4 separate regions of the Homo sapiens genome follow, and regions 1, 2 and 3 are each linked to region 4. The links are contacts of gene promoters, found by promoter capture Hi-C in blood cells and fetal thymus (Javierre and others, 2016). All regions are on one chromosome and are shown on one strand. Each heading gives the region's core, a stretch centred on a gene start or on the middle of the fragment in contact. The rest is flanking DNA. Distances are from core to core; before and after follow the strand shown. Region 1 overlaps RPA1 (replication protein A1). Region 2 overlaps RPA1 (replication protein A1). Region 3 overlaps PITPNA (phosphatidylinositol transfer protein alpha). Region 4 holds the start of MIR22HG (MIR22 host gene).

The links. The method cuts DNA at HindIII sites, captures the fragments that hold promoters and counts their contacts. A CHiCAGO score of 5 or more calls a contact.
Region 1: a contact is called between a fragment that was not itself captured here and the fragment with the promoter of MIR22HG in region 4, in 15 of 17 cell types (M0 macrophages, M1 macrophages, erythroblasts and 12 more). The highest score is 20.9, in M0 macrophages.
Region 2: a contact is called between a fragment that was not itself captured here and the fragment with the promoter of MIR22HG in region 4, in 8 of 17 cell types (M1 macrophages, total CD8 T cells, M0 macrophages and 5 more). The highest score is 6.4, in M1 macrophages.
Region 3: a fragment that was not itself captured here is called in contact with the fragment with the promoter of MIR22HG in region 4 in 1 of 17 cell types (monocytes); the score reaches 5.1 in monocytes.

Annotation. Positions count from the first base shown.
Region 1 is chr17:1,856,678-1,862,388 of GRCh38, forward strand. All of the region lies in intron 5 of RPA1 (replication protein A1), which reads left to right. It also overlaps the pseudogene SDHCP5. Among named protein-coding and RNA genes, the nearest start is that of RPA1, 30 kb to the left of the region's middle. The HindIII fragment of the contact is 481 bases long and covers 3,893-4,373 here.
Region 2 is chr17:1,882,535-1,888,427 of GRCh38, forward strand. RPA1 (replication protein A1) reads left to right here. Exons shown (of 17, transcript NM_002945.5): 13 at 1,278-1,410. Among named protein-coding and RNA genes, the nearest start is that of RPA1, 55 kb to the left of the region's middle. RefSeq lists a silencer at 488-537. The HindIII fragment of the contact is 153 bases long and covers 3,752-3,904 here.
Region 3 is chr17:1,549,869-1,555,639 of GRCh38, forward strand. PITPNA (phosphatidylinositol transfer protein alpha) reads right to left here. Exons shown (of 12, transcript NM_006224.4): 3 at 3,136-3,281. Among named protein-coding and RNA genes, the nearest start is that of PITPNA, 10 kb to the right of the region's middle. RefSeq lists an enhancer at 759-1,673. The HindIII fragment of the contact is 3,853 bases long and covers 2,596-5,771 here.
Region 4 is chr17:1,713,301-1,719,473 of GRCh38, forward strand. MIR22HG (MIR22 host gene) reads right to left here and starts at 2,910. Exons shown (of 3, transcript NR_028505.2): 1 at 2,830-2,910; 2 at 403-714. MIR22 (microRNA 22) reads right to left here and starts at 687; the gene lies at 603-687. It also overlaps a transcript of WDR81 not described here. RefSeq lists an enhancer at 3,057-3,698. The HindIII fragment of the contact is 4,707 bases long and covers 655-5,361 here.

The DNA.
Region 1 (5,711 bases), core at 2,883-5,382, 140 kb after region 4:
AATTTACTTTTTTTATTTAATTTTTTATATTTTTAGTAGAGACAGGATTTTGCCATGTTGGCCAGGCTGGTCTCGAACTCCTGCCCTCAAGTGATCTGCCTGCCTCAGCCTCCCAAAGTGCTGGAATTATAGCATATATATATATTATATAACATACATATATGTTTCCTTGTTATCCTTTGAGTGTCTGTAGAATTTGAGAGTTTCATCAATCTTATTGATCTCAAAGGAGCAACTTTTGGTTTTATTGATTTTCTCTTATGTTTTGTATTCTATTGATTTATGCTTTTTATCTTTATTTTCTTCTACTTACTTCGGGTTTTGTATATTTTTTTCTCGTTTCTTAAGGTGGAAGCTGAGTTCATTGACTTGAGATCTTTTTTTCTAACATAGGCATGTAGCATTATAAATCTGCCCTTAGCTACTGCTTTAAAAGTATCCAGCAAATTTGGATATGTTATATTCTCATTCATATTCAATTCATAATACTTTCTTATTTCCCTTTCAATTTCATCATTAACATTCTGTTATTTAGAAATGTGTTTAGTTTTTAAATGTGGGGATTTTCTCTTTTTTTCTTTTTCTTTTTCTTTTTTTTTTTTCAAAGATAAAATGAGTATTTAATTCAGTTTCAGAAAAAAAGGGTACATTACTTCGATGAGAAAGCATAAAATTAAGAGGCTTTTCTGGAAATCCAAGAAAAAGAAATAACCATTAATATGTTCAATGATAATTTTCTGGATCTTCCTCGTGTCCAAAGCTATATATTTTCTCCTCAAAAGCAGCTGCTCCAAGAACTAACTAGCCCTCTTTATCTCCCTCTAGCTGGGACAGACTAATTCCCCTCCACCCCCACCTCTCTTCTTTCAATAACACTGTGTAGGTGTTAATGGCCTGGGCTCTCACCAATGAAGAGAATTGTCCTTTAAGCCAGCAACCCACAGGTAGTGGCACCCAAAGCCTCACCAACCCACCCCCCACCCGGCCCGTCCCCAGGGCAGAAGCCACAGAGCTGGCATTGTTTCCACTGTCTCAGGAAGAAGGAGCCAAAAGCTGACCCTCAGCACAAATCAAAGCCCAATATGGAGAGAGAATAACTGCTTCTAGGCCGAGAGTAGGCAAGCTGTGGGCAAAAAAGGGGAGTTTTTGCAGCCACCTCATCTTTAGAAACAAGGGGAAAACTAGACCGTTTTCCACTATTAAGGTCTACCAGGTACTCTACTGCTCCAAGGAGATCTGAAAATACAAAAGGATCTAAACAAATAAGGAGAACTTTTCCCAGGCTGGAGATAAGAATGACAAACAGAAAGATGGGTGAATGTAATAATGTGTAGGAAGATGATGCTGGGAGCCTCCTTTCTTCACATGGCTGCCAGCCCCATAGAGGACAACACAGTAAGAACCAGGACAACCACTCCAGACTGGTATAGCTGGGGAATCTTCAGGCCTTTTCCTAGGTTCCACATCAAGTGTCGGATCCCATTCCAGGTATGATACATGAGAGGGAAGACGAGTGCAAACTTAGCTGTGTGGATCAGTGCTGGCCCCAGACACAGGGACTTCACAAGTTCCAAATAAGACTCAAAGTTCCCAGGGAGTAACACGGCCGACATGCCAAAAAGAGAGACCCCTGCACTCAAAGCAATACCAGTGCCACGGTGGCAGATGGACATCGCCATGGGAAGAGACCAATTTCTGATACAGAGCTGAGGGCTAAAGTGGGCTCGGAGGCAATGACGACCAACGTGTCTCAGCAACAGCGCAGCCATCTTGGGTTCTGGTCTCTCTTTTTCTTTTTTTTTTTGAGACAGAGTCTTGCTCTGTCACCCAGGCTAGAGTGCAGTGGCACAATCTCGGCTCACTGCAGCCTCCGCCTCCCGGGTTCAAGCGATCCTCCCACATCAGCCTCCTGAGTAGCTGGGACTATTGGTGTGTGCCACCATGCCTGGCTAATTTTTTATATTTTTAGTAGAGACGCGGTTTTGCCATGTTGGCCAGGCTGGTCTTGAACTCCTGCCCTCAAGTGATCTGCGTGCCTCAGCCTCCCAAAGTGCTGGAATTACAGACATGAGCCATCGTGCCAGCCAAATGTGGGTATTTTCTAGAGATCTTGTTCTTGATATCTAATTTAATTCTAGTATGATCAAACAACATACTTTGTATGACTTGAATCCTGTTAAATGTATTGTCTTATTTTGTTTTATTTTATTTATTTATTTTTATTTTATTTTTTTTTTTTTTTTGAGACAGAGACTCACTCTTTCACCCAGGCTGGAGTGCAGTGGCATGATCTTGGCTCACTGCAATCTCCACCTCCCAGGTTCAAGCGATTCTCCTATCTCAGCCTCCCAGGTAGCTAGGACTACAGGTGCCTGCCACCATGCCTGGCTAATTTTTGTATTTTTAGTAAAGACAGGGTTTTGCCGTGTTAGCCAGGCTGGTGTCAAACTCCTGACCTCGGATGATCTGCCTGCCTTGGCCTCCCAAAGTGCTGGGATTACAGGAGTGACCCACCTTCCCCAGCCTTGAGTCTTATTTTATGTCCAGATTATGGTCTCTCTTGGTAAATTCTGTGTGTACTTGAAAAGAATGTGTATTCTGTTGTTGGGCAGAGTCTTACAAATGTCAATTAGGTCGAGTCGGTAAATTGTGTTATTCAGTTTTTCTATATCTTTACTGTTTTTCTGTTTACTTGTTCTGTCATTTACTGAGAGGGATATTGAAATCTCTAACTGTAATAATTGTAAGTTTCTCTGTCTCTCTGCAGTTCTATTAGTTTTTGCTTCATGTATTTCAAAGCTGTATTATTAAATATCTATATAATTTAGAATTCTTGTGTCCACTTGATGAGTTGACTCTTATTATTATGAAATGATTTTATCCCTGGGAAATTCTGTGCTTTGAAGTCTGCTTTGATATTAGCATAGCCACTTTGGCGTTTTTTTTGTTTTGTTTTGTTTTTTCTCTCCTAGAGACAACATCTTGCTCTGTTGCCCAGGCTGGAGTACAGTGGTACATTCACGGCTCAGTGCAGCCTCAACACCTTGGGCTCAAGCAATCCTCCCACCTCCGCCTCCTGAGTAGCTGGGACTACAGGCATGTGCCACCACGCCCAGCTAATTTTATTTTGTTTTTTATTTATTTATTTATTTTTGAGACGAAGTCTCACTCTGTTGCCAGGCTGGAGTGCAGTGGCGTGATCTCGGCTCACTGCAACCTCCGCCTCCCAGGTTCAAGCGATTCTCCTGCCTCAGCCTCCTGAGTAGCTAGGGCTACAGGCACGCATCACCATGCTCAGCTGATTTTTGTATTTTTAGTAGAGATAGGGTTTCACCATGTTGGCCAGGATGGTCTCCATCTCTTGACGTCATGATCTGCCCGCCTCAGCCTCCCAAAGTGCTGGGGTTAAAGGCGTGAGCCACCATAATTGGCCTAATTTTATTTTTTGTGGACATGGAGTCCTGCCATGTTGCCCACACTGGTCTTGAATTCCTGGCCTCCAGCAATCCTCCTGCCTCAGCCTCCCAAGTAGTTGGGACTGCAGGCTGCACCTGTAGTCTGGGAGGTGGAGTGCCGGGCCTGCCTGTGGACTGCCTGGACTGGGGCTGGGACGGCAGTGCCACCACGCCCGGCTCATTTCTTTTCTTTTTATTTGTAGGGGCGGGGTCTCACTTTGTTGCCCAGGCTGGTCTCAAACTCCTGGCCTCAATCCTCCTGCCTTAGCCTCTCAAAAGGCTGAATTACAGGCATAAGCTACTGTGCCTGGCCATTGTGTATACTTTCTATTGCTAGCCGTTCAAGTTCACTAATGGTTTCTCAGGCAGTGCCTAATCTGCTGTTAATCCCATTGAGTGTATTTTTCTTCTCAGATAGTATAGTTTTTATCCCTAGAAGCTTGATTTTGGGTCTTTAAAAACTCATCTACATCTCTGCTTAATTTTTGGGACATACAGAGCACAATGACAGTATTTGTTGTAAGGTCCTTGTCTGTGGATTCTGGTGTCTGTGTTAGGTCCGGATTTGTTTCCGTCAGTTGATCCCGGCCTCTCCGATCATGGATCATATTTTCCTGCTGCTTTTCATGCCTGGCCCTCGGACCGAATGCCAGACATTGGGATTCGTACCTCGTTGGGTGCTAGAAACTTTTGTAATCCTGTAATTATTCTTGAGCTTTTTTCAGGGATACAGTTAACTTGGAGACAGTTTGATCTTTTGGTGTGTTGCTTTTAAGATTTATTAGAGAATCAGAGAGCTGCATTTAGTCTAGGTGTAGTTATTCCCAATACTGAATCGAGACCTGACAGACTGTTCTACCTCGTGCCCCATGAATATGAATTTTTCCCATCTGACTGGTAGAAACAGGTACTATTTCAAGCTTGCTGTAAACACAGGCATGGTTCCCTCTGGCCTTCTCAGATGATTCTCACCCTGGCCTCAGATCGTGTCCACACACACACACGGGCCAACCAGGACTCTGCTGACTACCCAGGAAACCTGCCACCCATTTCTGGAGTTCTCTGTGTACAGCCCTCTCTTCTCTGCTACTCTGTCCGGCCAGCTAGACGGCGATCTCCCCAGACTCTCGGCCCCCATTTCTGCACCTCGGGTTCTGGCAGGCCCCCTAAGCCCTTGAGGCACTGAGCTGGTGCAGACCCACTCGCTCGCTTTCCTGTGCACAGCAGGCGCTACCCCTCATTGAAAACCATGCGTCTCACGTATTTTCTCCCTTTCTGGTGGGGGGAGGGGGTTATGTTAGGTGTTAGGGTGAACCTGGTCTCTGTTGCTCCATTTGTCCGGTACGTAGTTTTAAAAGTTGAATATTTTTGCGAGGTGTGTCCTTAAAAACAAAACAGCATTCTCCTGCCTCACTTTTCTTTGGCCTCTGACTCCTGTCTAGAGACAGTCTGTTTCAAATCTCACAGCTGTTTCTTCTCTGTTTGTCTCCATATTTCTAAATAACACATTTGTGCTGCTCTTCGTTAATTTTTTCAGTTGAAACATTTGTTTATTAACTTCACGCTATGGGAGATTAGAATGTGGTGCTCTCTCTTTTTTTTTTTTCTTTTTTAAGAGTCTCACACTGTCACCCAGGCTGGAGTCCAGTGGCGTGATCTTGGCTCACTGCAACCTCCGCCTCCTGGACTCAAGCAATCCTCCTTGCCTCAGCCTCCTCAGTAGCTGGGATTACAGGCGTGCACCACTGCACCCTGCTAATTTTTGTTTTTATTTTTTTATTTTTTGAGACGGAGTCTCACTGTGTCGCCCAGGCTGGAGTGCAGTGGCGCGGTCTCGGTTGACTGCAAGCTCCACCTCCCGGATTCACGCCATTCTCCTGCTTGAGTAGCTGGGACTACAGGCACCCACCACCATGCCCGGGTGATTTTTTTTGTATTTTCAGTAGAGACGGGGTTTCACTGTGTTAGCCAGGATGGTCTCCATCTCCTGACCTCGTGATCTGCCCGCCTCAGCCTCCCAAAGTGCTGGGATTACAGGCGTGAGCCACCGCCCCCAACCGTATTTTTTTTTTTTTTTTTTTTTTTTTGTAGCGATGGAGTCTATGTTGTCCAGGCTGGTCTTGAACTCCTGGGCTCAAGCAATCCGCCCACCTGAGCCTCCCAAAGTGCCAGGATTACAGGTGTGAGCCACAGCGCCCAGCTTAGAATGTAGCTCTCTTATACCTCTCTTGTCCCTGCTGTCCACATGGAAGAAGT
Region 2 (5,893 bases), core at 2,578-5,077, 170 kb after region 4:
GTGCGTGCCTGTAGTCCCAGCTACTCGGGAGGCTGAGGCACGAGAATCACTTGCCAGGAGGTGGAGGTTGCAGCGAGCCAAGTTGGTACCACCACACTCCATCCTGGGTGACAAAGCAAGACTCTGTCTCAAAACAAAAAAACCACTTTTGGCTTCTGTATCAGGCATAGGAGGCCTTTTATGGAAACACTTTTGCTACCACGGTATATTGGCTGTCCGTTTCCACACTGGTACATTTCGGTGATGATCACCACGCAGCTGCTGCCTGAGAATGAGCATTAGCAGATTAAAGGACTACCCCAGACGGCCACTTTATAGCTTACGGGTTGTTGACTTTCCCAGTTTCTGATTTTAGGCCTGGGGTGGTCTGGCCACTGCCAATATGCAAGGCTAGTTTAAGAAAAGATTCTTTGGTACTTTGGCACTGATTCTCTTCACCACTGGGGGGCATCAAAGCAACTGAGATTCAAAGAAAGGTCATTCCGTTTCTTCAGTAGACTTTGGGCCAGGAGCAGTGCCTCACGCCCTGTAATCCCAGCACTTTGGGAGGCCGAGGGAGGAGGATTGTCTGAGTCCAGGAGTTTGAGATCAGCCTGGCCAACAGAGCAAGACCCCATCTCTTAAAAAAATTTTTTTTTCGAGACGGAGTTTCGGTCTTGTTGCCCAGGCTGGAGTGCAATGGCGCCATCTCGGCTCACTGCAACCTCCGCCTCCTGAGAATTGCCTACAAGTGATTCTCCTGCCTCAGCCTCCCGAGTAGCTGGGATTACAGGCACCCACCACCACGCCCGGCTAATTTTGTATTTTTAGTAGAGACGGGGTTTCACCATGTTGGCCAGGATAGTCTTGATCTCTTGACCTCGTGATCCGCCCGCCTCATCCTCCCAAAATGCTGGGGTTACAGGCATGAGCCACTGCGCCCAGCCTAAAAAAAATTTTTTTAATGGGCCTGGGCATGGAAGTCCCAGTTACTTAGCAGGGCAAAGGTGGGAGGATCACTGAGCTCAGGGGGTCAAAGCTGCCTTGAGCCATGATTGCATCATTGCACTCCAGCCTGGGTGACAGAGTGAAACTCTGACACAATTTTTTTTAATTTAAATATTATAAAAAATATATAATTACGAAGATACCAGCTTCAGCCGACATGACCGTGACCTGTGTGAAAGCTGGGCGGGTGGTGGGAAACCTGTGTCTGTCGCGTAGCAGCAAGTTGCATGTGGAGAAGCAGAAGCATGTCACATCAAGCGCTCGTCATCGTTATTCGTTCACGTTTTCAGGTTTGACGCAGAAGGACAAGCCTTAGATGGTGTTTCCATCTCTGATCTAAAGAGCGGCGGAGTCGGAGGGAGTAACACCAACTGGAAAACCTTGTATGAGGTCAAATCCGAGAACCTGGGCCAAGGCGACAAGGTACCCAGCATTCCTAACCACCTTCACAAAGGGCTGTAAAGTGTGCAGAAGGATGGATTTAGAAACTTGGTTTCCAGCACCAGCTGTCAGAGCCGTAATTCTTACCCGGGGCTGTGACCTGAGCGTGGCATGGGGGTTGAGAATCACTGGCAGAGGGAAGCAGCCAGGTGTGCTCATGGGAATATGTGTTACCCCTCAGGGGACTGGAGGCAGGAGAGTCTGAAGAACTCTTAGAGTCAATTCCTAGAGGGATCTTGGAGCAGGGGTGACAGTCAAGCTTTGTGGTATAATATCACCTGCTTTCGGGTCCACGTTTCTTTCCTGTGATCCTTCCTGCAAATTTAAGCGCCCACATATCAAAAAGATGTTTTTTGAGATGAGCGTTAGTCCGCCTCAGGTCAGACATGAGGCAGTTTCACGGGTGCTGTTCCTGGCTGTAGAATAGTGTATTAACCTCATAGGCTGAGAGCTGCCGGCATTCCCGGACAAGGATTGGCCCTGACATTTGACTTTTAGTTGCAGCTTTTTCCTTTCAGTGTTTGTATTTAATGACCCTCCTCCCATCTTGATCTAAGCCTGTGTTCTGCCAGCAGTTTAGTATTTAGATCATTTATTTCTCCTTTACGCCTGCTCTTTTATTTTCATCATATACAGTGTAGGTTTCATTCCTCCTGTCTCATTTCACTGTATACCCTTATCCATCATTGTCAACAGCAGCTCTTAAGTGCTCTTATAGAACATCTCAAGAATTAAACACTGGACAGATCCTCGTTGTCCTGTCATGGGACACCCACTCTTTCGGTTCTCTGTAATCCCAGCTACCCAGGAGGCTGAGGCAGGTGGATTACATGAGCCCAGGAGTTCGACTGAGCAACATGGAAGACCCCTTCTCTTGAAACAAAAACTTTATTGCTGAAAAATGCTGACAATCATCTGAGTCGTAATCTTCTTGCTGGTGGGGGTTTGTTTCAGGGTTGATGGCTGAGCAGTCACGGCGATGGTTGCTGAACATCGGCGTGTCTTTGGCAGTTTCTTAAAATAAGACAGCAGTGAAGTGTGCCACATTGGTTGACTCTTCCTTTCACAAAAGCTTTCTCCATAGCCGGCGATGCTGTTTGACAGCATTTTACCCACAGGAGAACTTTTTCAAACTGGAGTCTCTCCCTCTCAGGTCCTGTCACTGCTTTATCAGCCAAGCTTATGCAAATTCTAAATCCTTTGTCGTCATTTCAACAATGCTCACAGCGTTCTCACCACAAGAGATTTCATCTCAAGAAAGCACTTTCCTTGCCCATCGTAAGGAGCAGCTCCTTATCCGTTCAAGTTTGATCGTGAGATTACAGCAGTTCAGGCCCATTTTCAGGCTCCATTTGTAATTCTAGTTCTCTCGTTATTTTCGTCACATCTACAGATCCCTCCTCCACCAAAGTCTTGAAGCCTCAGTGTCTACCTTGAGGGTTGGAATCAACTTGTTCCAAACTCCCGTTGATGTTGGGATTTTGATCTCCTCCCATGAATCATGAATGTTCCTTTTTTTTTTAACTTGAGACAGGGTCTCATTCTGTCACTCAGGCTGGAGTGCACTGGCTTGATCACAGCTCACTGCAGTCTCAACCTCCCCAGGCTCCCAAGCTGGGACTACAGGTGCTGCCACACCTGGCTAATTGTATTTTTTGTAGAGACTGAGTTGTGTCATGTTGCCCAGGCTGCTCTCAAACTCCTGGGCTCAAGGGATCTCCCTGCCTCAACCTCTCAAAGTGCCAGGAGTTACAGGTGTGAGCGACTGTGCCCAGCCAACTGTTCTTAATAGCATCTAGAATGGTGAATCCTTTTCAGGTTTTCAATTTACTTTCCCCAGATCCATCAGAGGAATCACTGTGGCAACTATCGCCTCATGAAATATGTCTCTTAGACTTAAAAAGTCAAAATTACTCCTTGATTTGCATGGGCTGCAGAATAGATGTTGTTATCAAGCATGAAAACAATATTAATCTCCTTGTTCTGTGCATCTCCATTGAGCCCTCGGGTGAACAGGTGCATTGTCAATATATTAATCTCCTTGTACTGTGTGTCTCCATTGAGCCCTTGGGTGAACAGGTGCATTGTCAATATATTAATCTCCTTGTACTGTGTGTCTCCATTGAGCTCTTGTGTGAACAGGTGCATTGTCAATATATTAATCTCCTCGTACTGTGTGTCTCCATTGAGCTCTCGGGTGAACAGGTGCATTGTCAATGAGCAGTCATATTTTTAAAGGAGTCTCTTTTTCTGAGTAGTAGGTCTCAACAGTGGGCTTAAAATATTCAATAAACTACACTATAAATAGATATGCTGTCATCCAAGCTTTGATATTCTATTTATAAAGCAGAGGCAAAGTAGATTTAGCATAGTTCTTATGAGCCCTAAGATTTTTGACATGGTCAATGAGCACTGGCTTCACCTTATAGTCCCCAGCTGCATTCGCGCCTAACAGGAGAGTCAGCCTTTCCTTTGAAGCTTTGAAGCCAGGCATTGATTTCTACTCTCTAGGACGAATGTTCTTGATGGCATCTTCTTCCAGAAGGCTATTCTGTCTACGTTGAAAATCTGTTGTTGAGTGCAGCCACCTTCATTGGTGGTCCTAGCTAGATCTTCTGGATAACTTGCTGCAGCTTCTCCATCAGCACTTGCTGCTTCACCTTGCACTTTTGTTATGGTGACGGCTTATTTCCTTAAACCTCATGAACCAACATCTGCTGGCTGCCATCTTTTCTTCTGCAGCTTTTTTTTTTTTTTTTTTTGAGACAGAGTCTCACTCTGTCACCCAGGCTGGAGTGCAGTGGTGCAATCACAGCTCACCTCAGCCTCTGGAGTAGCTGGGACTACAGGTGCACACCACCGTGCCCTGACAGATTTTTGTAGAGACTAGGTCTCACTATGTTGCCTGGCTGGTATCGAACTCCTTGGCTTAGGCAATCATGTTGCCTCTGCCTCCCAAAGTGCTGGGATTACAGGTGTGAGCCACTGCACCTGGCCTCTTCTGCAGCTTCCTGACCTCTCTCAGCCTTCACAGAATTGAAGAAAGGTGAGGCCTTGCTCTGGGTTAGGCTTTGGCTTAAGAGAATGTTGTGGCTTGCTTGATATTCTATCTAGACCACTACAGCTTACTCCATATCAGCAGTAAGGCTGTTTGCTTTCTTATTTGTGTATTCAAAGAAGAGAGACAGGAATACTTGATTGGAGGATCAGTCAGCATACATACAACATTCATCAATATAAGTTCCCCATCTTATATGGGTGTAGTTGGTGGCACCCCAGAACAACTACAATAGTGACGTTAAAGATCACTGTAGGCCAGGCGCGGTGGCTCATTCCTGTAATCCCAGCACTTTGGGAGGCTGAGGCAGGCGGATCACCTGAAGTCAGGAGATCGAGACCATCCTGACCAACGTGGTTAAAACCCCGTCTCTACTAAAAATACAAAAATTAGCTGGGCGTAGTGGTGCATGCCTGTAGTCCCAGCTTCTCGGGAGGCTGAGGCAGGAGAATCGTTTGACCCTGGGAGGCGGAGATTTCAGTGAGCTGAGATCATGCCACTGCACTCCAGCCTGGTGACAGAGCGAGACTCCGTCTCAGAAAAAAAAAAAAAATCACCATAACAGATATGATAATAATGAAAAAGGGCCAGGCATGGTGGCTTACTCCTATAATCCTAGCACTTCGGGAGGCCAAGGTGGGTGGATCACTTGAGGTTTGGAGTTCGAGACCAGCCTACCCAACATGGCAAAACCCCATCTCTACTAAAAAATACAAAAATTAGCCAGGCGTGGTAGTGCACGCCTGTAGTCCCAGCTACTTGGGTGGCTGAGGCAGGAGAATCACTTGAACCTGGGAGGTGGAGGCTGCAGTGATCAGAGATTACACCACTCACTGCACCCCAGCCTGGGCGACAGAGCGAGACTCTGTCTCAAAAAATACATATATAATGAAAAAGTTTGAAATCTTGCAAGAATTACTGTCTTTATGTGACACAGAGACATAAAGTGAGCACCTGCTATTGGGAAAATAGTGCATTTACTTGACCCAGGGGTGCCACAAGTCTTCAATCTGTAAAAAATGCCGTATCTGTCAAGTGCAGTAAAGCAAAGCACAATAAAGTGAGGTGTGTCTGTAGTTGCAGCAGAGACTGTGACCAAATGGCTGCTAAGGCCTGAAATATTTACTGTTTGGCTTTTTACAGAAGCAGCTTGCTGATCCCTGGCCTAAACAAGGAAAAGGTGAATCTAGGCCTAGACACGACTGCCGTGTTTTGAGCGCGGGAGGGATGGTTGATCGTTGCTGCACTGGGTGTTTGTGGTCCGCATTCTGTATTTCCTAGATCTGTGGCCTTTGGAGGGTCAGAGGATCGGGAGGAACAAATCTTTGTCTTTCATACAGTGTTCAAGCAAACAGGAAAACAATTTCACTTTTAATTAACTTAGTGTAATTTAGGATTAACTCTTTT
Region 3 (5,771 bases), core at 3,272-5,771, 160 kb before region 4:
TTTGTCATGTAGGCCAGGCTGGTCTCGAACTCCTGACCTCGGGCAATCTGCCTGCCTCAGCCTCCTAAAGTGCGGGGATTACAGGCGTGAGCCACCGCGCCCAGCCGTCCTTGGTTTCTAACAGATAATCTGTCCAGTCTTTGGCAAGCTCTGGCAACCTCATCAGCTTTAGTGCCTCAGGCCTAAGAAAGAAGAGCAAACTAGAGCAGAGAGCTAACCTGGAGCACTTGGGGCGGCCTCTGTGATTCACGAACTCACTGCCATCCCCATTCAGGCGAGTATTTCTAGGTCCAGGCAGGGGGACACACAGAGAAACCAAACAGATGTGGCTCCCACCCTCAAGGAGTTTCCGGTCTACTGGGGCGTGTAACTAGACAAGGCCAAGCACAACACTGTAAGTTCATGCCATAATGCGGTGGGCACAGGGCCCTGGGTGGCGGAGTGCTGTGAGAACACAGTGGGGGACATGCAGTGCACCGGGCAGGCTCTGCGAGGAAAGTCAGGATGAACCAACACATGGGACAATGAGTGGGGCTAAGCTAAGAGACAGATGGGAGTGGGGTGGGAAAAGCTGGAGAAAAGAGGGACAAGTTCAGAGTAACCGGTGCAGGTACAAGGTGGGGAATTCAAGGAGACACCTGAAGCTGGATCCTAAAAGATTTTTTTGTTTTTTTTTTGAGACAGGGTCTCACTCTGTGGCCCAGGCTGGAGTGCAGTGGTGTGATCATGGCTCACTGGCAGCCTTGACTTCCTGGGCTCAGGTGATCCTCCCACCTCAGCCTCCCAAGTAGCTGGGACTACAGGTGCACACCACTATGCCTGGCTCATTTTTGTATTTTCTGGTAGAGACAGGGTCTTGCTATGTTGCCCAGGCTGGCTAAAAGGTCCTATAAGTTATGTCAGACAGCACGGACTTCGTCCTGAAGGCAAAGGGAAGCCGTCAGCAGTTTTGGCGCTGGGAGTGACAGACCATCCAGACTGAACACTTGAAGCGGTGCGGAGAACTGAAAGGCAGGGAGACTCGTTAGAAGCTGCTGTAGTAATCCAGGCAAGAGGTGGCAAGGAAGGGACATGTTGGAGACGCTGAGGAGATGGAGTCAGCAGGACCTGATGGGACACGAAGGGCAAGTGAGAGTGTTGCGGGGCGGAGTCAGCGGGACCTGATGGGACACGAAGGGCGAGTGAGAGTATTGCGGGGCGGAGTCAGCGGGACCTGATGGGACACGAAGGGCGAGTGAGAGTGTTGCGGGGCGGAGTCAGCGGGGCCTGATGCGATAAGAAGGGCGAGTGAGAGTACTGCAGGGGAGCTCTGCTTTCTGCTTTGGGCAGCCAGATGGCTGACACAGTAAAGCTTCTCTTGTCACCATGGGGAGAGGTAGTGGTGGCAGTCACTGCTGGCCTTTTCTTTTTCTTTTTTTTCTTTTTTTTTTTTTGTAAGAGACAGGCGGGATCTCATTCTGTGGCCCAGGCTGGAGTGCAGTGGCGTGACCATGGCTTACTGCAGCCCTGACCTCTTGGGCTCGGGTGATCCTTCCACCTCAGCCTCCTGAGTAGACAGGACTACAGACACTCGCCACCACACCAGCCTAATTTTGTTTATTTTTTGTAGAGATGGAGTCTCGCTATGTTGCCCAGGCTGGTCTCAAACTCCTGACCTCAAGTGATCCATCCGTCTCGGCCTCCCAAAGTGCTGGGATTACAGGCGTGAGCCCCCGAAGCACCCGGCCAGGTTCCATCTTTCATATGTAGAGACCTCGTCTCTGTCAGTTTGGTTGGACCAACTTAGTCTTGAGGAAACAATTGGTCCCTTCTACCTAAAATACCAACTTCACCATCTCTTTTCAAAATCCTCTTTAAGAAATACAAATACCAGAGGAGGAGCAAAACGAGACATGGAGAAAAAGTGTGCTGGTGAGGAGACTGAGTGATGGTGAGGTTCCTCCCCGCTGGACAGCACTGCTCTCCTCGCACCCCGGCACTGAGGTCCTGGACCCTCTGGCGAGGAGACTGGGTGACGGTGAGGAGACTGGGTGATGGTGAGACTCCTCCCCGCTGGACAGCGCTGCTCTCCTCGCACCCCGGTACTGAGGTCCTGGACCCTCTGGCGAGGAGACTGGGTGATGGTGAGGTTCCTCCCCACTGCACAGCACTGCTCTCCTCGCACCCTGGCACTGAGGTCCTGGACCCTCTGACACCATCAAAGTGACAGACCACAGTGAAGTGGGGCTTTTTCCAAATGAAAGTCAATTGATTTCAGTTCAGTTTAGAGACTAGAAATTAAGATCCAGCTTTCAGTTTCACAGCAGTGTGGATGGACTTAAATGTCACTGAACTGTATACTTAAAAATGGTTAAAATGGTGAATTTTATGTTACGTGTACTTTATCACAATTTTTAAAAAGATTCAGGTTTACCTTTACCAGTTCTGGATAGCTTCTAAAACTAGCTTGGTTTGACTTCCACTCAAGCTGATGTATAATTAATACCATCAACGCCCTTTGGGTCTGCTCACAGTTTGCTGAAACATTACTGTTTTCGTTAGGGATTTAGCAAATTTGTGTAGTTTGATATGGATTCCAGTACACAAATCAGTTCAAGCTTCATTTAAAAATGCTGATGCCTTTGATCCAAAGAGAGGTACCAAAATTTCTCTAGCGATCGATTTCACGATATCAGAATTAAAAACCCTACCAGCCCAGCAATTCTAGGAATTCAATTTTAGGAATATTTGCTAAAAATCTGCATATACAAGTACATCAGAAGATCTACACAGAAGGAGTTTTACTGGATTATGTAGGCATCTGGAAATGACTAGAAATATGCGTCAAGACAGGAGGGTTCAACAACCTATAGCACTTCTGTCCCCCATGATACTGTGAATCCTACACGGACTTCAGAGACCGAGGCAGACAGAACAGGCTGGGAGAGGAGGCCATGATAAGTAACAACAAAAAAGGAATAGTATATTCCCATCTATATAAATGTGAGTATAACATTTATACAGTCAGTATATAACTATTAATTGTTAGGATATAACAATTAGTATAATCCCATCTATATAAAACAATAAAGGAAATAACACTCATTCACACACACACAAAAGCCAGCATCCGGCCCCGCTGCTCATGCCGCATACCTCTGCAGGTGGTAGATCTTGTGTGTGTACTGGCCTTTCTCACCGTCCTTCTCGTAGGGCTCATTCACCAGGACCTCCACGCCTTCGCCACCACCCGTTTCATTTTTACTGGCCTCAGCCACAGAATACAGCTGCCCCACTTGATACTAAAGGACAGAGACAGATGTTATTCTCAACACGGACCCTTCTCAACGGTTACACGTAATCCAGCTGCCAGTAAGTGTCTAACTGGATCTCCCTGGGGTCTCCTCATGCAGGAGCTGGTTCTGGAGTTTCACATCAGGCCTTGCCCAAACCCACCCAAAGCAACTGACAGTGCTGCTCCATGGCCCCTCTTGACCCATCAGACGTGTTTAGTTCATCCTTCTCATTTTCACACCACCCATCAGGGTTTATTTTTATTTATTTATTTTTTTTGGTAGAGACAGGGTCTTGCTATGTTGCCCAGGCTGGTCTCAAAACTCCTGGTCTCAAGCCATCCTCCCACCTTGGCCTGCCAAAGTGCTGAGATTATAAGCATGAGCCACCGTTCCCAGTCAATCCATCAGGATTTAAAGAGGCAGGTGAGTCTACTTAACCTGACACCACCACGCAGAAAACAGATTAGAGTCCAAAGGAGCTTTTGTGCTAAGCCTGCTTCTGGTATTAAGACCCCAGAAGACCTAGGTTGGTTGCTAGAAATCACTGGATCTCACCCATTTAAATAGATCCTAAGACTTGATTTCTTGTCAAAGAAAGGTGCTCAGCGCTCTGTGAAATCCGCAACCTCTATCGTAAAACTGGCTCATCTACTCGCTTCTTCTCTAGTCTTAGGCCTCTCCTCACCCCGCAAGTAGCTCTTTCAGGCAATGAAACCTCTTGACATTTTCCAGATTCCTGGTGGGGCCAAGCAAGTATTCCTGCTTCCCACATGAGATATTACAGATTCCTGCCCCACAGTCTGTGCCGGCTGGGTGCACCCTCTGTGTTGGCACTTACTACATGGCAAAAACCTAGTTTTCCTTTATTTGGGTCACATGCCACCCTATCAAGTCACCAGTCAACATGATTGGCCTCCTCTGACCCTGTCAGGATGGGCCAATGACCTAGGCAGTGCCCAGACTTAGCCCTTCCGCCTTCTTCTCTGAGAAGCTGTCCAGAGGAGAAAACAAGGTGAAAAGAAAATGAACAGCAACATTTGAGGCAGGAAATTATGTCTACACCAACGGATGTGTCTTTCCTACCGCTGCCGGTGCTAATCAGGCATGGCTGCTTAGGGAGTATGAGAAAAAGGAAAAAAGCTATGGGATTACCCAACATGCTGGGGGGTGGAGGGGGACAAAGGGTTTCCTCGAGCTCTATGCCCAACTCCTGGCACCCCCGGGGGGAAGACAAGGGTGTTTCTCTATTTTTTTTTTTTTTTTTTTTTTTTTTTAGACAGAGATCGCACAGTGGTGCGATCTCAGGTCACTGCAACCTCCGCCTCCTGGGTTCAAGTGATTCTCCTGCCTCCTGCCTCCTGCCTCAGCCTCCGAAGTAGCTGGGATTACAGGGACTGGGTTTTTCTCTCTTTGAGATTAAAACAGAAAGGATGTATCTCTAGGCAACTGCTACTTAAATCACTGCCTCCAACAGCAAGGACAGAGGCAGCTTCCAGAGCTGCTTCGCCTCAAACTTAGAAACCTGCTCTACCAGGCAGCTTCCTAAGCACTGCAGGGAAATTTCTGGGCAAAATCTGGAAAGTGAAGCAGAGGACGAGGACAATTCACTGCTCACCACAAGGCTGAAAGAGCCCTAACTTTCAAAGCAAAATCCCAGAACAAAATGCCATGAAAAGGGGCAGCAATCGAGGCTCAGTGAAATCCATACAGAGGAACATATGGGTGAAAGCCAGTCACCTTGACCTTGCTAATCCTAAGCTGCATCAGTGCTGCCTCAATGCCCCCCTGGAGCCCCAAGCTGTCCCTGTGCCTCTCCAAGTCCACCACCCAGCTAGGCACACATGAAAACCCGTCAGGTGGGTCAGGGCTTGGCTGAGCCAGGGGTGCCTAAGAAGGAGCAGTAACTCCGTTTCAGAGAAGAGCCGTAAGAACATCTAACCACTGACTCAGCAATCCTAAAGGACAGGCTGGGGAGAGGGCCTGGTGGAGGGGGCGAGGTTCCCAGCTAGTGGTACCACTTGGGAAGGGGGACCCCAGGCAGAGACTAATCGCCTTCATTTGGTTTCTCTTCAGCTGCAGGAATCAGAGGGCAGGTTCTAAGAGGATCAGCCTGTTGGCTGGCATCTTCCCCCTTCAATCTCTCTTGATATTCTGATCCTTTAATCCCAATGAGACAAGTGAAGGCAGTTTTGTTAATCTAAAGGGGTAAGCAAGACTGGCCTGCACAAGCTACAAGTGAAGGGCGCTTTTCACGTTAGAGTTCCTTTTGGCACAGCTGCTCTGCCCCCTGGGAAAGCAGCCAGACTCGGATGGGGCAGAGATAGGAGTGGGAGGGTCAGATCATTAAATCAGATTTAAAAAACTCCAACAGGACTGGGAATCTAGCCTCCTCAGACCTGCGATGATGTTCCTTGCTCTTGAGATCTGTTCACCTATCCCAGAGAACTAAGACATTCAACTAAGAAAAACAGACTCCACAACTTTGGCAATCTGGGA
Region 4 (6,173 bases), core at 1,660-4,159:
GAAAAGGTGTTTTGTTTCCACCCACAGCAGGGGGAGAGCCCGGGTTCTGAGTCAACCCAGATGGGCTTCTGATTCCCTCATGCACACTCATCTGTGTGACTGCCCATCTCACAGGTGGAGAAACTGAGACAGGAGGTCTAAGGGTCTCAGATACAGGTAAGTGCCCAGGAATCTAGAGTCTGGGCCAGCCTAAGGAAATGCAGGGAAAAGTAAGAGCAGAAGGATGACTCCTCACGCCTGGGTTTAGTATCACTTTTCCCTGAAGAGTGAGCTTACTTTTGGACCTCATCTGGAAAGGCCAGTGGGGAAGAATGAAAGATACGGAAGGAGGGTCAAGAAGGAAGTCGGGGAGACAGAGTGTTCTCTCCACTTCTTCCCACTGTCACACAAAGACCAACTAACCTTGGGTTGTTTGAGCCTTCTACTCCTCAATCCAGCCAGTGTCTCTAATCTAAAACCGCTCCTTGCTGGGCCAATCTGGGCAAAGGCTCTCCAACTTGCCCAAAACGTATCATCCACCCTGCTGTTCGGACCTTCCCAGCCCATTTCTGTCACCTTCCAGATGATGGGGAAAGCAGCTCCTCCTCCTCCTCGAAGCCAGGGGCAGAGGGCAACAGTTCTTCAACTGGCAGCTTTAGCTGGGTCAGGACATAAAGCTTGCCACTGAAGAACTACTGCGGCTCAGCCAGGTGAGGGCGTGAGAGGAACAGGCTCCTAAGGGAAAGGGAGGGAAAATGGGAAAGATCTGAGCAGGGCATGTTGCTGCAACGCTGACCCACTCGCTGGCCATCAGGGTCCTGCCCCAGTAGACCTCTGAGATTCTAATGCAGGGCTGCAGCTCTGATCTGGGCCCGCGGAAGCTGTTAACCTCGCTGAGCAGCAAGAGGTGGCTGTAAACAGACTTCCCTTGCTCTTCTTTCCAGAACTGGAGTCTAGAGAAACCCAGTCCTGCTCTCACCCTCCCCTGCCCTAGCGGCCCCTGGGGGCCCAGCCTCCTCAGCATTCAGACAGGGTGGGGCCCGGGACCCTGGACACACCCCACCAGCACGCAGGTACTAGAAGTGTGGTACCTCAGGTCCAGAAATGTGAGTTCAGTGATCAGCCCAACTGACTTGTTCCCAGGGAGTTCAGCTGGAAGGAGAGTTCTGGGGGCCTGGATTGGGGAAGAGTGAGGAAGGGAGGAGGCCTAGCGTTTGAAAGAAGGTCAGCAGAGGCCCCCGGGGCTGTGAGGGGCGGACAGGGGACCACAGGCTGGAGAGGAGGGAGGTATCGGCAGGGTGGCCGGGGCTGTGAGGGGCGGGCAGGGGACCACAGGCTGGAGGGGAGGGAGGTATGGGCAGGGTGGCTGGGCAGCTTCCCCAGGACTCTCAGATGCCAGGCATTCCGCTTGCGCATTCCGGGTACATCTGGTATGAATTCCAGGCTGTCTGCCGGCCCCTCCATGTCTGAACTTTGTTCCAAGTTCCAAGCCCCGCCCCCACAGTTCCAACGCATGAATCAGCAGGAAAAGCCGGGCCCTGCAGCATGGCCCAGGGAGGGGGCTGGGGGCGTGGCAGGCTCGGGGGATGTGAGCTGGGGAGGGCGGGTCCGTGCTGACACTCAGTCCAAGGGCATGGCCCACGCCAGGCTGAGGGGCCAAGGCGGTCTTGCCTTGGAATTTCTATACTCAGAGGGTAAGAAAGATTGGGGGATACGGGGTGCGGTTCAAATTCCGAAACCCTCTTGGGAGGCATGAACTTTGTGTATCTTCCTTCCCCTGGGTGACCAGTCCAACTCCGTCCGACCTTCCTCTGTCTGAGATAGCTCTGTTCAACCCAGAGGACTCAGCAGCTGCTGAGAGTCTGTGCCAAGCAGGTGCCCTTGGCTGCAGGGCGGGGTGGGCCCAGGGCACTGACCCTCTGACCAGCTGCTCCATCAACCCTCTGGCACTCTGACAGCTCCTAGCCCAATCTGACAGCCAGGATGACAGGCCAAAGGAGTTGGAGGCTGGAACCAGGGCCGGAGGGAGGTGGGGGTGACAGCCTCGCCGGAGGCCATGGGGAGGGGCCAAGAGTTGGCCGAGAGGTGGGGAGAGAGGCAGCCCAGTGATGACTAACCCAGGCGCCCCACCCAGCCAGCCGGCTTCCCAGGCAGTCAGGGCCAGGCCTGGGCTAGGGGCCTCACAATCGGACAGGCTGGGGGGAGGTGCAGAGGTGACCTTCTCTCGGCCCAAGACGGCCAGTTAGTCTGGGGAGCGGGGGTTAGAGTTTCCAGGCCCTCCTCTTGCCCTCTTCCCCCCGCCCAACCACGGTGAAACCCTAACCTTTGGGTTGCATAAGGCCCCGGCACCGCCGCCCCCTACTCCTCTCCCCTCCCCCCTTACATAACATCCCCTGGAGAGAACGAGAGGAGGGGCCGGCCCGCCCAGCGACCCCTTCCCTGCCAGGGCGCTGAACTGGCCCTGACCCAGTGAACGCCGGCAGAGGCAAAGCACCTCCTCGCCGCCCGCTCGGGGGGTCCAGACCCTCCCCAGGCTAGATGGCCGGCCCCTGTATCCTCAGACCGGGGGCCGCCGGGTGAGCCGCCCCCGGCCCTCCGGCCCCTCGGCTCTCCCCCCGCCCCCCGCCACTCCGCCAGCCCTTCCGCCACGACTCCCGTCCCAGACTCTTTCCTCGTAGCTCCTGACACACTAACCCGGCCAGTCCAGGCCCCTCTCCCCGAGGCGCCCCTGCCCCCGCCGCCCCTTCTCCTCCCGGAAGGGCTGGGTGTGGCCGCCCGGACCCCACTTTCACCCTCCATCCCGTTACCGCGGCTCCCCGCTGCGTGACCGGGTCGCCAGCTCACACCCACCTGGTGCTGGGTGTGGGGGTTGCTGCACGAGGGGGAGCAAATCACTGCGTCCGCTCCCCACGGCCGGCGGCGCTGTCTCTTCTCGGCACCCAGCACACACCGGCTCCAGGCTCCGATCAGCTGGCGGCGTCGTGACGCACGAGCTGCGAATGCACGGCCCGGGGCCAATCACCGCCCACTGCTGGGCAACGTGGCCCCGCCCACCCGGGGGCCGACGGGGCCTCGCCCTGGTCCCGCCTCTCCGGGCGCCCTGGCTCTGATTGGCAAGGAGGCCACCCTTTTGCCGGGCGGAATTGCACGAAGCCACGCCCACCCACTGAGGAGCCGGCCAATAGACGGACAGGTGTGGCCCAGCCCTCCGCGTCAGCGACCCGCTTAGAAAAGCGCTACGTCAAACGAGAGTCCTAAAGAGCAGGCGAAAGCCACGGCGTCTGCGTTTGCAATGCATGCTGGTCCGTGTAGTTCTCAGCCTGACACCGTCGTTCCCAGAACCCAGCGCGCTCTGTGAGTTGGCATTTTTAAACTGAGCTCGGAATCCAGCCCGGGGAAGTCCTTAAAGGGCGACAGCCCCTCCTTGTTGGAGTCGTGAGTGCTTCTTTTAGACATTCCCCAAACTGACTCGCCGGCCTCTGCGGGACGCTATAGCTCTTTAAGGAAAGGTGGAGCGGACCAAGGAGCAGGAGTGGGCAGAGCGTCAGCCCCCAGGGCAGCAGAGACTGCCGTTGGAGAGCTCTCCAGGGTTTTTGGAGGAGGGAGGGTGCTCGCCTCGCCCAGCCCACTCCTCCTGGGGGCTCTTCCTAACCACAGGAGGCTTTTTTTCTTGGATGTCTCTTCCCAGTCCCAGAAGAGCCCCCAGAGCCTCCCAAGAGGTAGCTTTCTAACAAAAGATTCATAGCACAGTCCTCACCTTAGGGTAGAGGGAGGGCTTCTGGTCAGAAATTAGGGGATGGGCCATGCCAAAGTGCAAAGGGTCAGCAATCGCATCCTCTGATTAACCCCCATTCAGTCCCGCCCTCCAAAGCTCTTCACTGACTCAGGCCTACTTAGGGAAGAGATTCGAAGGTGGAGACCAATGAGCAGGCTGCTCCTTCCCCAGGGGCCAATCAGAGTCTAGATGAGCGGGGGATGGGCAAAAAGTGAAATGAACCCAGTGACTTGGCAAAAGCTGCTGGTCGGCGTTTTTAAAGGGGCAAGCCGGAGACCTGCCCTACCTTATCAATCCCCGCAAGTCCCCCAAAGAGGAACATGTGGACTGAAATCCATGCCTTTTCCTTCAGCTCCAAATAGGGGCTGAGGGTAACTAAGCAGGAATGATGAGGCTGGAGGGTGAGATCCTTCCTTCTGTTAAATACGCACTCCATCAGGTAATTGATAAGGTTCACTTGGAGCTCCAAAATTCTGAGCCTGCGTTCAGGACATTGCGCCTTTAAGGAAACTTCCTGCCTTGCGCCCCAGTAACAGCTGATTGTTGGAAAGTGTGACCTCTGGGGACGAATCAGCTGTTACCACATCCTCCTCCTTGCTTACCCTCCTCCATCCCCTTATCCACTCCCATGGGTGGTGAAGGAAAGAACGTGGGGGATGTGATTGTATGATCTTTCTTTTCCCCCATCACTCCAAGACTGTCTCCCCCAACCCCAACCCCGCTCTGCTCCTTAGTTCTTCAGAGGCTCTGGGCTTGGAAAGAGAGGTATTTCCTGTTAGCACAGTAAATTCAGACTCTGTGGTCTAGACCCTCCCTGGTCTAGGGGAAGGCCAGTACTGGGGAGGTCCAGAATGGTGGCTGGCGCTGGGGAGGGTACAGTGAACCCGAGGACCAAGCCTGGGGAGGAGGAATGGCTATGGGAAGCAAACTTGGGGTTCAGAACGCTGCTTCTCAGGCCAGCCGCCCCCTACTTCCTACTCAAGTTGCCCTATTCCTCCATGGACAGGTGTCTGCTGATGGGATCCTCCTGCTTTTGCCCATTTACTCCACCTCCTTATTTATTTTTTTTTTTTCTGTTTTTGAGACAGAGTCTCGCTCTGTTGCCCAGGCTGGAGTGCAGTGGCGCGATCTCGGCTCACTGCAACCTCCACCTCCCGGGTTCAAGCGATTCTCCTCCTTCAGCCTCCTGAGTAGCTGGGATTACAGGCGTGCGCTACCACTCCCAGCTAATTTTTGTATTTTTAGTAGAGATGGTGTTTTGCCATGTGGGCCAGGCTGGTCTCGAACTCCTCACCTCAGGTGATCCACCCGCCTCGGTCTCCCAAAGTGCTAGGATTATAGGCGTGTGAGCCACCGCGCCCGGCCGCATTCACTCCACTTCTAACTGTTCTCAGCTGCCACCTGGTCCCTGGGCCGCTCCATTTTTGGCTTTTGGCGGTGCCCTGCCCACATGGCCACCCCCCATAGCAAGGGTCCTAATTGCTCAAGGACTGCAGGTGGGACACGTTGGCCCCAGAAGCCAGCGTCTTTGGCTGGGAAGTGCTGGGAAGACCCAGGTAAATATTTTGCCTCGATCCTGAGTTGGGAGTCAGGGTCACTCCAGGACAAGCTTAGTGTGAAGTCCTAGGACTGACTTGGCAAGGCGTGGAGAAATTGAGCAGGGCCCTGGCCAAGCATGGAAGGAAGTGAAGCCTCACCAGTGGCCCCTATTCTCCATTATCCTGAGCATAGAAATCCCATCCCTTTCCCACTCACGGCCCTTGGGGTGACCCTTTTCCATTTTGTTCTGAACACTGACCCCACCCCCTAGGTCAAAAGCACAGGCTTCGAGTCCAGGGTTTCGCCACCTCAGCACCCACTGGCATTTTAAGTAGAATAATTTCTTGTGGGAGGGCTACCGGGTGCACAATAGGACATCCACGTGGTCCCTGGCCTCTGTCCTAGATGTCAGTGGCAACACCCACCCACCCCCAGCTCCCAGTTTTGACAACCAAAAGTATCTCCAGACGTTACCAAATGTCTCCTAGGGGCCAAAATCTCCTCCAACTGAGAACTACTGTGTTAGGCACACTTAGATTCAAATTCCAGCTCTTACTAGCTGTGAACTTGTTACCGATAATTTCCCCTCATCTACAACATACGGTGAATAAGGAATTCAAGCCTTGTTGTAGGGATTTCAACATTTAAAAATATTTTAAAAGTTAAAAATGTGCCCGGGCGCGGTGGCTCATGCCTGTAATCCCAGCACTTTGGGAGGCTGAGGCAGGCGGATCACGAGGTCAGGAGATGGAGAACATCCTGGCTAACACTGTGAAACCCCGTCTCTAATAAACATACAAACAATTAGCCGGGCGTGGTGGCGGGCGCCTGTAGTGCCCAGCTACTTGGGAGGCTGAGGCAGGAGAGTGGCGTGAACCCA